3 separate regions of the Homo sapiens genome follow, and regions 1 and 2 are each linked to region 3. The links are contacts of gene promoters, found by promoter capture Hi-C in blood cells and fetal thymus (Javierre and others, 2016). All regions are on one chromosome and are shown on one strand. Each heading gives the region's core, a stretch centred on a gene start or on the middle of the fragment in contact. The rest is flanking DNA. Distances are from core to core; before and after follow the strand shown. Region 1 has its middle 42 kb from the start of SPINK2. Region 2 has its middle 15 kb from the start of SPINK2. Region 3 holds the start of ARL9 (ARF like GTPase 9).

Evidence for each region. Contacts are between HindIII fragments. The CHiCAGO score rates a contact against its expected background, and 5 or more counts as called.
Region 1: a fragment that was not itself captured here is called in contact with the fragment with the promoter of ARL9 in region 3 in 1 of 17 cell types (M1 macrophages); the score reaches 5.1 in M1 macrophages.
Region 2: a contact is called between a fragment that was not itself captured here and the fragment with the promoter of ARL9 in region 3, in 2 of 17 cell types (total CD4 T cells and non-activated CD4 T cells). The highest score is 6.1, in total CD4 T cells.

The regions. Positions count from the first base shown.
Region 1 is chr4:56,777,720-56,782,040 of GRCh38, reverse strand. No RefSeq gene overlaps it. Among named protein-coding and RNA genes, the nearest start is that of SPINK2, 42 kb to the left of the region's middle. The HindIII fragment of the contact is 396 bases long and covers 1,617-2,012 here.
Region 2 is chr4:56,804,429-56,808,726 of GRCh38, reverse strand. It overlaps the pseudogene RN7SL357P. Among named protein-coding and RNA genes, the nearest start is that of SPINK2, 15 kb to the left of the region's middle. The HindIII fragment of the contact is 8,095 bases long and covers 1-4,298 here.
Region 3 is chr4:56,503,340-56,507,303 of GRCh38, reverse strand. ARL9 (ARF like GTPase 9) reads right to left here and starts at 1,513. Exons shown (of 4, transcript NM_001363794.2): 1 at 1,163-1,513. The coding sequence starts at 1,441. SRP72 (signal recognition particle 72) reads right to left here. Exons shown (of 19, transcript NM_006947.4): 19 at 3,623-3,964. The HindIII fragment of the contact is 16,175 bases long and covers 1-3,964 here.

The DNA.
Region 1 (4,321 bases), core at 565-3,064, 270 kb before region 3:
GTATCTTCGCCAGCACTACCAGTTTCTTTGCTTTGGAAAGTGAGAGCTACCTCCTGCCGTCATTAGATTTAGCTCAGTGATGTCTTCTCAACAGAAAACCCAAGCCTCCAAGAAGCTTGCATCCACAAAATCCATTTGGCTCCAACAAATCTTATTTCATGGCTCCTGGCAATCGGGTTTGTGTGTCTAATTTCCTCAAGCCAATTTACAAGCATTATAGTCTCATAATTACAAAGTTCTCTGTATCCCAAGCCCAGGAATCAATTTGGTGAGTTGGTGCATGCCCCAGGGTTTACTTCTGCTGCAGTCCATCACAGCTCTCTTTCTTCTTAGAAAAGCACCAATTCATCCAAGACAGAAAACAGCTCCTAAGCAGGCCAGGACAATTCTCAAGGCGCCAATGACTAATGTGAGGCAGTGGGGGATGGGGAGCACCTCTATTTTCTTTCTCCAGTCCACCCAGATCCAGATCCACATCCTGTTCTTGCATAGGTATAGGAGGCCCTATGCAGAACTGCAAAGCCTACAAAGGATCTGCACCCTGGGATTCTCTGTTCTGTCTTTTCTCCACTCAGGGAGCCTCCTTCCCAACTTCCATGTACCTGTTACTCTCCACCTCTCCATCCAACCTATCTCTTGTTTTAAAAATTCCTCCGCTTACCGGGCGCGGTGGCTCACGCCTGTAATCCCAGCACTTTGGGAGGCCTAAGTGGGTGGATCATGAGGTCAGGAGATGGAGACCATCCTGGCTAACACGGTGAAACCCCGTCTCTACTAAAAATACAAAAAATTAGCCGGGCGTGGTGGCGGGCGCCTGTAGTCCCAGCTACTTGGGAGGCTGAGGCAGGAGAATGGCGTGAACCCGGGAGGCAGAGCTTGCAGTGAGCCGAGATCGCCCCACCGCACTCCAGCCTGGGCGAAAGAGCGAGACTCCGTCTCAAAAAAAAAAAAAAAAATTCCTCCGCTTGGGCTGGGTGCGGTGGCTCATGCCTGTAATCCCAGCACTTTGGCAGGCCAAGGCGGGCGGATCACGAGGTCAGCAGTTAGAGACTAGCCTCGCCAGCATGGTGAAACTCCGTCTCTACTAAAAATACAAAAATTAGCCAGGGCCTGGCGGTGGGCACCTGTAATCCCAGCTACTCAGGAAGCTGAGGCAGGAGAATCGCTTGAACCCCGGGAGGCAGAGGTTGCAGTGAGCTGAGACTGCGTCATTGCACTCCAGCCTGGGCAACAGAGTGAGACTCTGGCGTCTAAAAAAAAAAAAAAATTTCTGTGCTCTTTTGGTTAGGTCAAAGGATAAAAGGCTGATAGTAACTCAAAATATTTCTTTTCTCAAATCGGTCTCCATTTTAGCAAAGAATAAGATTTCAGGTTAAAGAAATGGAAGGAGTATTTAAAGTGGAATACCAGGTAGGACCCTGCAACAGCAGATGGGGAAGATTTGCAGGGAGCTGCTTGGGCCTTTAAAATCACACTTGGAGGCAAAGGTAAAATCCACCTGCTCTAAAACCAGCCCTGTCTACAGGCTTTGGAGCAAAAATGCCTGACTTTGTTTTGGGTTAGATCCTACAGAGATTCTTCCAGCCCTGAAAAAATTCTCCGTGGTTTTATAAGCTTATAATTTCTAGTGATGATTACACAAAGGCATCTCCTGGGATTTCCCACGGGCTGCCTCCCCACCGCCCCCACTATCTCCTCTTCTCTGTCCAAAATGCATATGGAGCTCTGGCTAAATAGATTGGGCTCATGGATTAGCTTACCCACCCAGGGTGTTTGGCAACATTGGATATGTCATGCTTGCATGGGCATCAAGTGGCTGAATCCACTGAACATACATTTAGCCTCTGTTTCAGTCTTTATGATATGTGCTGGGGATTCAGAGATGAAAAGACACAGTCCCTACCATTGATGAGTTTATAGCCCAGTGGGTAGACAGTCATGTGAACAGATAAAAACTAGTGTATCTTGAACAAATTTCAATACACATACTTGGGTATGCAAGAAACAAAGCTTTTCTAATTTTTGTTCTAAGTGAACTTGATTATTCTTACTATTATTTTTTGAGATGGGATCTCACTATGTTACTCAGGCTAATGTCTAACCCCTGGGCTCCAGCAATCCTCCCACCTCAGCCTCCGCAAGTAGTTGGGATTAAATGTGCACACCACTGTGCCTAGCTTAATAAACTTGACTTTCAGCTTGAGTCCCCATTCTGCCTAGTGGCAGAAATGTAATCTTTAGCCAATAGGGCTTTCTCAGCCAATCAAACTCTTGCCTCTCTCCTCTTCACCGCAGGGTTGCATCTCAATTCTGAGTGCTATGTTGATGCATCCTGGTGCGGTCGGGGAGAGACTAGGTGGTGTCAAGAGCTCAATGGCCACATTCTTATATATTTATTTATTTTAATAAATGTTGATTTTAAAATTAGAGATAGGGGTCTTGATATGTTATCTAGGCTGGTCTTGGACTTCTGGCTCAAGTGATCCTCCTGCCTCAGCCTCCCAAAGTGCTGGGATTATAGGCCTGAGCCACCATGCCCGGCCTCAATGGCCACATTTTATCTGACCTTTGGTTGTTCTTCGTCTTTCTCACTGGAATCTCTTGAGATGTTTATTTTCTCATCAGATCTCTGGTCAGAATGTCCAGGGGATTATCTGTTGCCATGTTCCTTCTTCCTAATCCTAAGTCATCTGCTCTCTCAGTTGCCTTCACACATCTCCCAGGGAATGGGAAATATTTGGCTGCTTGTTCACCTGATTAGAAGGATATAGGTAGGGTAGTGGGGCAGTTTCATGTGCTCTTGGCTTCAACATTTATGACCTATGCCCAGCCCATGCTGGATGCAAGAAGCCTATATGAGACTGACTTTTGTTTTATTTTATCTTTTTGGGACAGGGTCTTGTTCTATTGCCCAGGCTGGAGTGCAGTGGCAGATTATGTCTTACTGCAGCTTCCACCTTCTGGGCTCAAGCCATCCTCCTTTCTCAGCCTCCTGAGATTAGCTGAGACTACAGGCACGTGCCACCTGGTCTGGCTAATTGTTTTATTTTTTGTAGGGATGGGATCCTACTATGTTGCCCAGGCTGGTCTCAAACTCCTAACTTCAAGCAATCCTCCCACCTCGGCCTCCCAAAACACTGGGATTGCATGTATGAGCCACGTGCCTGGTGGAGACTGATGTTTAGCAACAGATTCCCTCCACTTTGGAGACCCCAGACAATCTGGAATGTCTTTTATTTCCCCTTGCTCCTCTGTAGACTTGGAATGGTGCAAGATAGGATACTTATTGGAATTATTTCTGTTCCTCCACCCTGTCAGGGGATCTTTATATCCTCTAGAGTGAGGCAAACTTTTTTTTTTTTTGAGACAGAATCTTGCTGTGTTGTCCAGGCTGGAGTGCAGTGGTGCGATCTCAGCTCACTGCAACCTCCGCCTCCTGGGTTCAAGCGATTGTCCTGCCTCAGCCTCCTGAGTAGCTGGGATTACAGGCACCCAAAACCACACCCGCCTTGGCCTCCCAAAGTGCTGGGATTACAAGTGTGAGCCACCATGCCCTACCTAGAGTGGGGCAAACTCTTACATGAGCATGTCTTCTTCCAAACTCATTGATTATAGAAATACTTTACTGCTCTAAATTCTTTGGGATTTTAGCTTCTGATGTTCAAAAGCCAGATTCTTATGCTTGAAAGAAAGGATTTTTAGACTAAATATATTTTCCTTTAGGCTACTGCTTCTGGAATGAGTTTCACAGTCTACATTTTTTTTTTTTTTTTTTTGAGATGGAGTGTCCCTCTTGTCGCCCAGGCTGGAGTGCAATGGTGCAATCTCAGCTCACTGCAACTTCTGCCTCCTGGGTTCAAGTGATTCTCCTGCCTCAGCCTCCTAAGTAGCTGGAATTGCAGGCTCCTGCCACCATGCCCGGCTATCTTTTTGTATTTTTAGTACAGACTGGGTTTCGCCATGTTGGCCAGGCTGGTCTTTAACCCCTGACCTCAGGTGATCCGCCTGCCTTGGCTTCCCAAAGTGCTGGGATTACAGGCATAAGCCACCGCGCTGCGCCCAGCCTCACAGTCTACTTTTAAATAGAAAAACTAAGTAAACTATCCTTTCTTGCCTGCATTTTTTCTCTACCAACCCTATGCTGAGGGCAGTGAACACGGACCATCATCACTACTACTCTGATAGGAGTAGCTAGCGGGAGGTGGCAGCAGATACCAAAACCGAAAGTGTCCGATAGTCTCATTGAGATGCGCTAACACCTCCACTATATGAGCTAAAATTTAGGCTGGGCATGTGGCTCTCTCCTGTAATCCCAGCACTT
Region 2 (4,298 bases), core at 1,604-4,103, 300 kb before region 3:
AATTTCCTTTCAATACAGTTTTCATTCTGAGTTCATACAGGAGTTTGGCTTTTTCTTTCTTTCAGAGCAGTGGTTCTCAATCCAGGGTGATTTTCCCCAAGGGGACATTTGGCAGTATGTCTGGAGGCATGTTTGGTATAACTGCTGAGGTGTGGGGTGCTACCTAGGAATGCTTCTAAACATCCTACATTGCATAGGTCAGCCCCCAACAGCAAGGAATTTTCCAATCCAAATGTCAGTAGTGCTAAGGTTGAGACACCCTGTTTTAGAGTTTGATACAGTATAAACATTTTATAACAATAATATAAGTGACCAGGAATTTAGAATGATAGAGTTTTCCAGGTAGAGAATTTTAGTCATAAGGCCTAGGTTTAAGTACATTCCAGCACCAGGAAATGGTGAGACGCGAGGCAAGAGGTGGCTGGGAGAGTGGTATCGTGGGGAGAACATGGCTTTTGGGGGTGAGCTAAATATGAGTTCATTCTGATTCCAACACTTGTGTTTCAGTTTTCGTATCTGAAAATGGGGTTGATGTTTAGCTCCTGGAGCTATGATGAGGAAACTGTTTAGCATAGTGCTTGACATATAGAAGCCACTGAAATAGGTGCTACTATTGTTTCAGACACCCCTCCTAGAGAGGAGAAAACAGGCCCACAAAGGCAAACACATTTGCCTAAGGTGATAGAACTGAGCCTGGGCCTGCATGGTGGCTCTTGCCTGTAATCCCAGCACTTTGGAAGGCCAAGGCAGGCAGATCACGAGGTCAAGAGTTCGAGACCAGTCTGGCCAATATGGTGAAACCTCGTCTCTACTAAAAATACAAAAAGTAGCTGGGCGTGGTGGCACGTGCCTATAACCCCAGCTACTCGGGAGGCTGAGGCAGGAGAATCGCTTGAACCCAGGAGGTGGAGGTTGCAGTGAGCTGAGATCACACCACTACACTCCAGCCTGCGTTGACAGAGCAAGACTCCATCTTGAAAAAAAAAAAAAAGAGTCATATATACTTTTTGGAAAATTGAAAAATACAGACCGGGTGCAGGGGCTCACCCCTGTAATGCCAGCACTTTGGGAGGCTGAGGCAAGAGGATCATTTGAGGCCAGAAGTTCGAGATCAGCCTGGGCAACACAGAAGACCCCGTCTCTATTAAATAAATAAATAAATGAAAAAAAAATAGATACAGAAGTATATAAAAATAGAGTGAAAGTCTTGCCCATCCTAGCCTCCAGAGGCACCCAAAACTGTTTTGAAATGTCTTTTTCTCTAAGTACACGTGTATACAAAATTACACATGTGCACACACAAGTCCTGTAAACTTGCTTTTACTCTTTAAATATTGGGTTTGTTTTCATGTTGATATATATTGTTTCTTCTTTTTTAAAAAAATTTATTATTATTTTTTTGAGACTGAGTCTTGCTCTGTGGCCCAGGCTGGAGTGCAGTGGCATGATCTCTGCTCACTGCAACCTCTGCCTCCCGGGTTCAAGCGATTCTCCTGCCTCAGCCTCTGGAGTAGCTGGGATTGGAGGCCTGCCACCACTACACCTGGGTAATTTTTGTATTTTTAGTAGAGACAGGGTTTCACCATGTTGGCCAGGCTGGTCTGGAACTCCTGACCTCAAGGGATCTGCCTCATTGGCCTCCCAAAGTGCTGCAATAACAGGCATGAGCCACCGTGCCCAGCCTGTTTCTTCTTTTAAACAGCTACACAGTATACTGTTATTGTGCCATAATTTATCCAGTCTCTATTGACCTATATCTGGATTATTTATTAGGATTCTCTTGATTGAAAGTGGGAAATCCCAACTCAAACTAGCCTAAGCTAAAAGGGGAATTAATTACTTCCTTGATATAGTGAAGTGACTAAGCACACTGGTTCAAAGCCAGATATCTGCATTCACTGACCAAATTACTGCTTAACTCAGTTTCCTCATTTATAAAGTGAGGAAGATAATAGTATCTACTTAAGATAATGCATGTAAGGTGCTTAGGACACTTGAAATGTTGGCTGTATTATAGAAAACTATACCTTTTTTTGCAAAAACAGTTTGCTCTTTTGACTTAATATTTCATGGATGTTTTTCCAAATCTATACATATAGATCTACATCATTGAAAACACTTGCATAGTATTCTGTTATATAGACATACCATAATTTGTCTATTCAATCTCATCCTGATAGACACTTACATTATTTCTCATTTTTCACTATCACTAATGCTGAAATTATGTCTTTTATTTTTATTTATTTATTTATAAATTTTTATTTATTTTTTGAGGTGAAGTTTTGCTTGTGTTGCCCAGGCTGGAGTGCAGTGGCACGATCTCAGCTCACTGCAACCTCCGGCTCCCGGGTTCAAGTGATTCTCCTGCCTCAGCCTCCTGAGTAGCTGGGATTACAGGCATGCGCCATGATGCCCAGCTAATTTTTTGTATTTTTAGTAGAGATGGGGTTTCATCATGTTGGCCTTGCTGGTCTTGAACTCCTGACCTCAGGTGATTCACCCGCCTCGGCCTCCCAAAGTGTAGTGATTATAGGTGTGAGCCACCGCACCTGGCCTATTTATTTTTTAAAAAGTGAAAAATTTTCTTTTAATAGAGATGGGTCTCACTATATTGCCCAGGCTGGAGTGCAGTAGCTGTTCACAGGTGAGATCCTGCTACTCATCAGCACCGGGATTTTGACCTGCCCTGTTTCCAACCTGGGCCGGTTCACCCCTTCTTAGGCAACCTGGTGGTCCCCTGCTCCCAGGAGGTCACCATATTGATGCCAAACTTAGTGTGGACACCCATAGGGATAGCACACTACAGCCCAGAACTCCTGGACTCAAAACGATCCTCCCACCTCAGCCTCCGGAGTAGCTGGGACTACAGACATGTGACACCATGCCTGGCTAAACTTATGTCTTTGTACTCATGCCCTTCCTTCTTTGTGCACATTCTGTAGGACAAATGCATAAGATTGGCATTACTTGGTCAGAAGATACACAAATTTAAAACATTGAAAGAGATTTCAAAATATTTTTGAAAAGCGTGTACCTATCTACATCCTCTGTGACAAATGAGTGCCTAGTTCTTCTTTCTAATACCGTTGAGTTAAAGAAGTAGTGCTGCCCCGAATCTGCTCAGTTAGAGTTGTTCTGTATACTCAGTTTGCATCCATTCTTTTTTTTTTTTTTTGAGACAGAATCTCTCTCTGTCAGCCAGGCCAGAGTGCAGTGGCGCCATCTCGGCTCACTGCAACCTCCATCACTGGGGCTCAAGCAATTCTCCTGCCTCAGCCTCTAGAGTAGCTGGGATTACAGGTCCCCACCATCACACCCGGCTAATTTTTGAATTTTTAGTAGAGACGGGGTTTCACCATGTTGGCCAGGCTGGTCTCGAACTGTAGACCTCAGGTGATCTGCCCGCATCAGCCTCCCAAAGTACTGGGATTACAGGCATGAGCTACTGCACCTGGCTAGCATTCATTCTTTATTGAAAAATTCGTTTTTTCCCTTTAATCTTCTTCTTTTTTTTCTTTTCTTTTCTTTTTTTTTTTTTTTTTTTTTTTTTTTTTTTTTTTGAGACAGAGGCTCGCTCCAGGCTGGAGTGCAGTGGAGCGATCTCAGCTCACTGCAATCTCTGCCTCCAGGGTTCAAGTGATTCTCCTGCCTCAGCCTCCCGAATAGCTGGGGTTACAGGCACACACCACCATGCCTGGCTAGTTTTTGTATTTTTAGTAGAGATGAGGTTTCACCTTGTTGGCCAGGCTGGTCTAATGTTCTTTAAAAGTGGCATAGTAATTATAGTTGTCTCAAGTAAATGGTGAGAAGAAAGTTCAACAGTCTATGGAGAGTTCTAGAATAGAAGCTGCCCAAGGATGGAGATCCTCTAAGTCTTGCTCATCATGGTATTTTCAGTGCCCAGAATAGCACCTAGCACAGTGCATATTTGTTGGTTGAGGACATGAAAATACAGCTTAGGAAGCTCACAAAATAATGACAACAAAACCACTAACCTCCATGAATTTCCTTCCTGCAAGAACAGGCAAGATAACTCAAACCAGAAATCCCACACACCACAAAGAAAACAACGTTTTGACTTGCCCAACAGTGAATTTCATTTTTTCCTATGTTACTCTGAAAAAGATAACAATGCTTCATGCCCAGAAGATTTTGAACAGTTCCAGGAGCATACCTTAAACTGGTTTAGATTCTTCTTTGTTATTTAATTAATTAATTTATTTGAGATGGAATCTTGCTCTGTTGCCCAGGCTGGAGTGCAGTGGTGTGATCTCGGCTCACTGCAACCTCCACCT
Region 3 (3,964 bases), core at 264-2,763:
CTTTCCAACCACGTTGCTGTCCCTACGCCCATCCTACCTAGAAATTCTGCATTCAGGCTTCCTCACATTTACCTTCTCCTAAGGAAAGCTGAATTTGTAAAACAGTTCAGACACAAAATGTGATTCTGAACACCGTTTTTGTCAAAAGTTATTCCTTTAGCCAAATATGAGTCTATGTAGTCTGTGTTTTACCAGAGATCAAATCTCTGTTAATCCGTGGTGGCTCACGCCTGTAATCCCAGCGCTTTGGGAGGCTGAGGCGGGCGGATTGCTGGAGCCCAGGAGTTTGAGATCAGCCTGAGCTACATGGCGAAACTCCAGCTCTGCACAAAAATACAAAAATTAGCTGGACATGGTGGCGTGTGCCTGTAGTGCCAGTCACTGAGGTTGGGAGATGGGGGCGGTGCCAGGCTGAGGTGGGAGGATCCCTCCAGCCTGAGAGGCAGAGTAAGACCCTGTCTCAAAAAAGAACACACACACACACACACACACACACACACACACACACACACACACAACTGTGTTAATCATTCATAATTGTTTAGAACCAGAGCGCAGCTCTAAGCCAAGGAGCCAGCTCAGGAACTCCAGGAGCACAGAGACCATTCAGCTGACCCAAATAATGCCAAGTTTCTAAGACCTGTCAGTTAAAACTTTTCCGCCATCCATTCATGGTACTGGTGGTCTGAAAACAACTGCAGCGTCCCCAAACACCTCCTGCGTTCAGGAACCCTGCCCCTTCTGACAAAGAACGCATTCAATGCAAAGAGGGCCTGCGTGTGGGGAGGGTTCGGGGCTGGTTTCTAAATGTGGTCAGGTGGTCTGTGCGCTAGTGTTGCGCGCTGGACAGATCTAAGGGCAGTAGAGGGGCCGTTCCCCATGTCCCCATGAAGACCGAGATCTCTTGTCCCTCAACAACAGACCCGACTGAGGTTAAGACACAGGGGTAGCGATAAGGGCTAGGGTGGGCAGGGGGCCCGGGAAAAGGGGATGGGTCGTTCAAAGTTTGGCGCATCTCTTTCATCCATAGGTAAATAGCCCTCAGTTGAGATCCATTCGCTCCCACGCGGTCGGGGGCCTCCGACGTAACAGAGACAGCGCTGGGGTCTGAACGGCCGACAAAAGCCTTGGGGCAAGGGGTCCTGGGCACTGGGTCTCTTACCAGCGGCTCGAGCGGGGTCCTTGTCAAGGTGCTGTCCTTGTTCTCCCCTTTCTCTTCTTGTCCCTTAAATTGTTCCTTCTCTTTGTTTGTCTCCTTCCCTTGCTTTGTCCTCTTTTCCTCTTTCTCTTTTCCCTTTCTCCTCTCCTGCTTCTCTTGCTTTTGTTTAATTTTCTGCTCCACCTCCTTTCTTTTCACTTTCTCTTCCCTACCCTTTTCTCCGATTTTCTCCTCCTGCGTCTCCTTTTCCTTCTCTTTCTTCTTCACTTTCCCCCTCTCCATCCCCAGCGCCGCGGTTTCCTTCCCTCCCGCCGCGTGCCCGCGTGCTGAGCGGTGGCTCTGGGCCCCAGGTGTGGCTCCCGAGGTGCACGCCCGACAGAGACGTAGGCCCCGCGGCGTAGACAACCCGCGGGCGCTGCCAACCCCGGCACCGCCGCCAACCGCCGCTTACCTCGCGGATGCAGGGCTTCTTGCAGCCGATTCGCTGAACCCGCAGGGGTTCGCAAAGAGGGAAGGGCGGAGGCGTACGGATGGATTGAGCCCAGCCAAGCGAAACCAAGAGGTCCCAACCAGGACGTGGGACAGTTCGGCGGGGTATATCATTGCTGCAGAAAAAGCGTCCCTAGCGCGATTACCTCGGGCCAGGCAGGGTGGCTAAGAGCCTTCCACGTGGGCCGCAGTCTAAGCAACCTTAGCGTCTGACGTCTCCGGCTTCAATCCCGAGACCGGCCAGCCTGTGTGAAGAACCCCTGGGGCGTCAGAATCCAGAGGTTCCGGGAGGATTCTCAGCCTTCCCTCAGCTCCCAACCATGAGCCTGTACTGCTCATGTCATGTATTTCTCCGCCCTCTCCCGAGTAAACTCCGCTAGGAGTGTCTCCAGACTACTACCCAGGATTATTAGTTGACTATTACCCAGGATTATTAAAGACAAATAGAAGAACGTGAATGGGTTCCATTGTTTTAAGTTCCTGTTTTGTTTTTGAGACGGAGTCTCTGTCACCCAGGCTGGAGTGCAGTGGTGCGATCTCAGCTCACAGCAACCTCCGCCTCCCGGATTCAAGCGATTCTCCTGCCTCAGACTCCCAAGTAGCTGGGATTACAGGCGTGGGCCACCACGCCCGGCTAATTTTTGTATTTTTAGTAGCGACGGGGTTTCACCATGTTGGCCAGACTGGTTTCAAACTCCTGACCTCAAGTGATCCTCCCCGCCTCTGCCTCCCAAAGTGCTGGGATTATAGGCATAAGCCGCCGTGCCCGGCCTGTATTTCACTTTAAAAAAAATTATTCGGAGATAGCCTGCCAGGATCACAGCTGCTAGTAATGCTCAGTATTAAAACCAAAACCAAATAGTCTAGTCACTTCTAATTATCTAATAAATGGTAAATAAGGCACACGAAGGGCTTTTCAAAGGTGGTATTGTTTCTCAAACTGGCTAAGAAATATCTGGAGGGTTCCTTTTATCTTGCTAAACTGAACTCTTTAGTATATTTCAGTTTAGCACAATTATATATTTTTTGAGACAGTCTCGCTCTGTCGGCCAGGCTGGAGTGCAGTGACACAATCTCGGCTCACTACAACTTCCACCTCCCGGGTTCAAGCAATTCTCCTGCCTCAGCCTCCCGAGTAGCTGGGATTACAGGCATGTGCCACCATGCCCAGCTAATTTTTGTATTTTTAGTAGAGACGGAGTTTCACCATGTTGGCCAGGCTGGTCTCGAACTCCTGACTTCAGGTAATCCGCCTGATTGGGCCTCCCAAAGTGCTGGGATTACAGGCATGAGCCACCGCACCCGTCCAGCACAATTATTTTTTGAGACGGAGTTTCACTCTTGTTGCCCAGGCTGGAGTGCAGTGGTCCGATCTCAGCTCACTGCAACCTCTACCTCCCAGGTTCAAGCGATTCTCTTGCCTCAGCCTCGCACGTAGCTGGGATTACAGGCATGAGCCACCATGCCTGGCTAATTTTGTATTTTTAGTAGAGATGGGGTTTCTCCACGTTGGTCAGGCTGGTCTCGAACTTCTGACCTGAGGTGATCTGCCCGCCTCGGCCTCCCAAAGTGCTGGGATTACAGGTGCGAGCCACCGTGCCCGGCCACAATTATTTTTCAATGTAATAAACTTATTTTCCTTCATTGTATCTGTTTCAAATAGACTTGTAAGGAACAATGAATAGCAGGTTCCAGAAGGCTTGAGTGATGCAATGATATTTAAGGTTGGCTGTTCCCAATAGCATTGGAATTGCTATGCTTAATGACTTTTTCAAAGGTTTACTTCTGTTTATACACACACCAAGATGAATTTTCAGTAAGTTTACACGGGGTTCTCTCAATCCCATTAGATTAGTTTTATGGGTTTGCTAAGAGGGACAGTACACACAATTTTGATACTCAGCTTAAAAGAAAATTCTTGGTTATACTAACCAGGAAGTCCTCCATAAAATGCCAACACCCAAAACACCTTAATCCATATTCACTGCTAAAATATTTTATTTTAAAATGTACCACAGTGAATGGATGTATCCATACTGGTTCTTATAAATGTACACATACACATCCATATATTTGACAAAGTATATATATGAACTGGTTAAAGACCTATCCAAAAGAGGAAATATTTCTAGAAAGTTCATGTGTTTATACTTCATTTGACAATTAAAACTTATTTGAACTGATGAAGTTTTAGTTGCTTAGCAATGACTAATAATACCAATGCCTGTCAATAATGACAACTAAATTGAGAACTATAAATTTCACTGCTGTGCCTTGGGTCAAAATTTTCAATGATGGAATCCTAAATAAGTAACA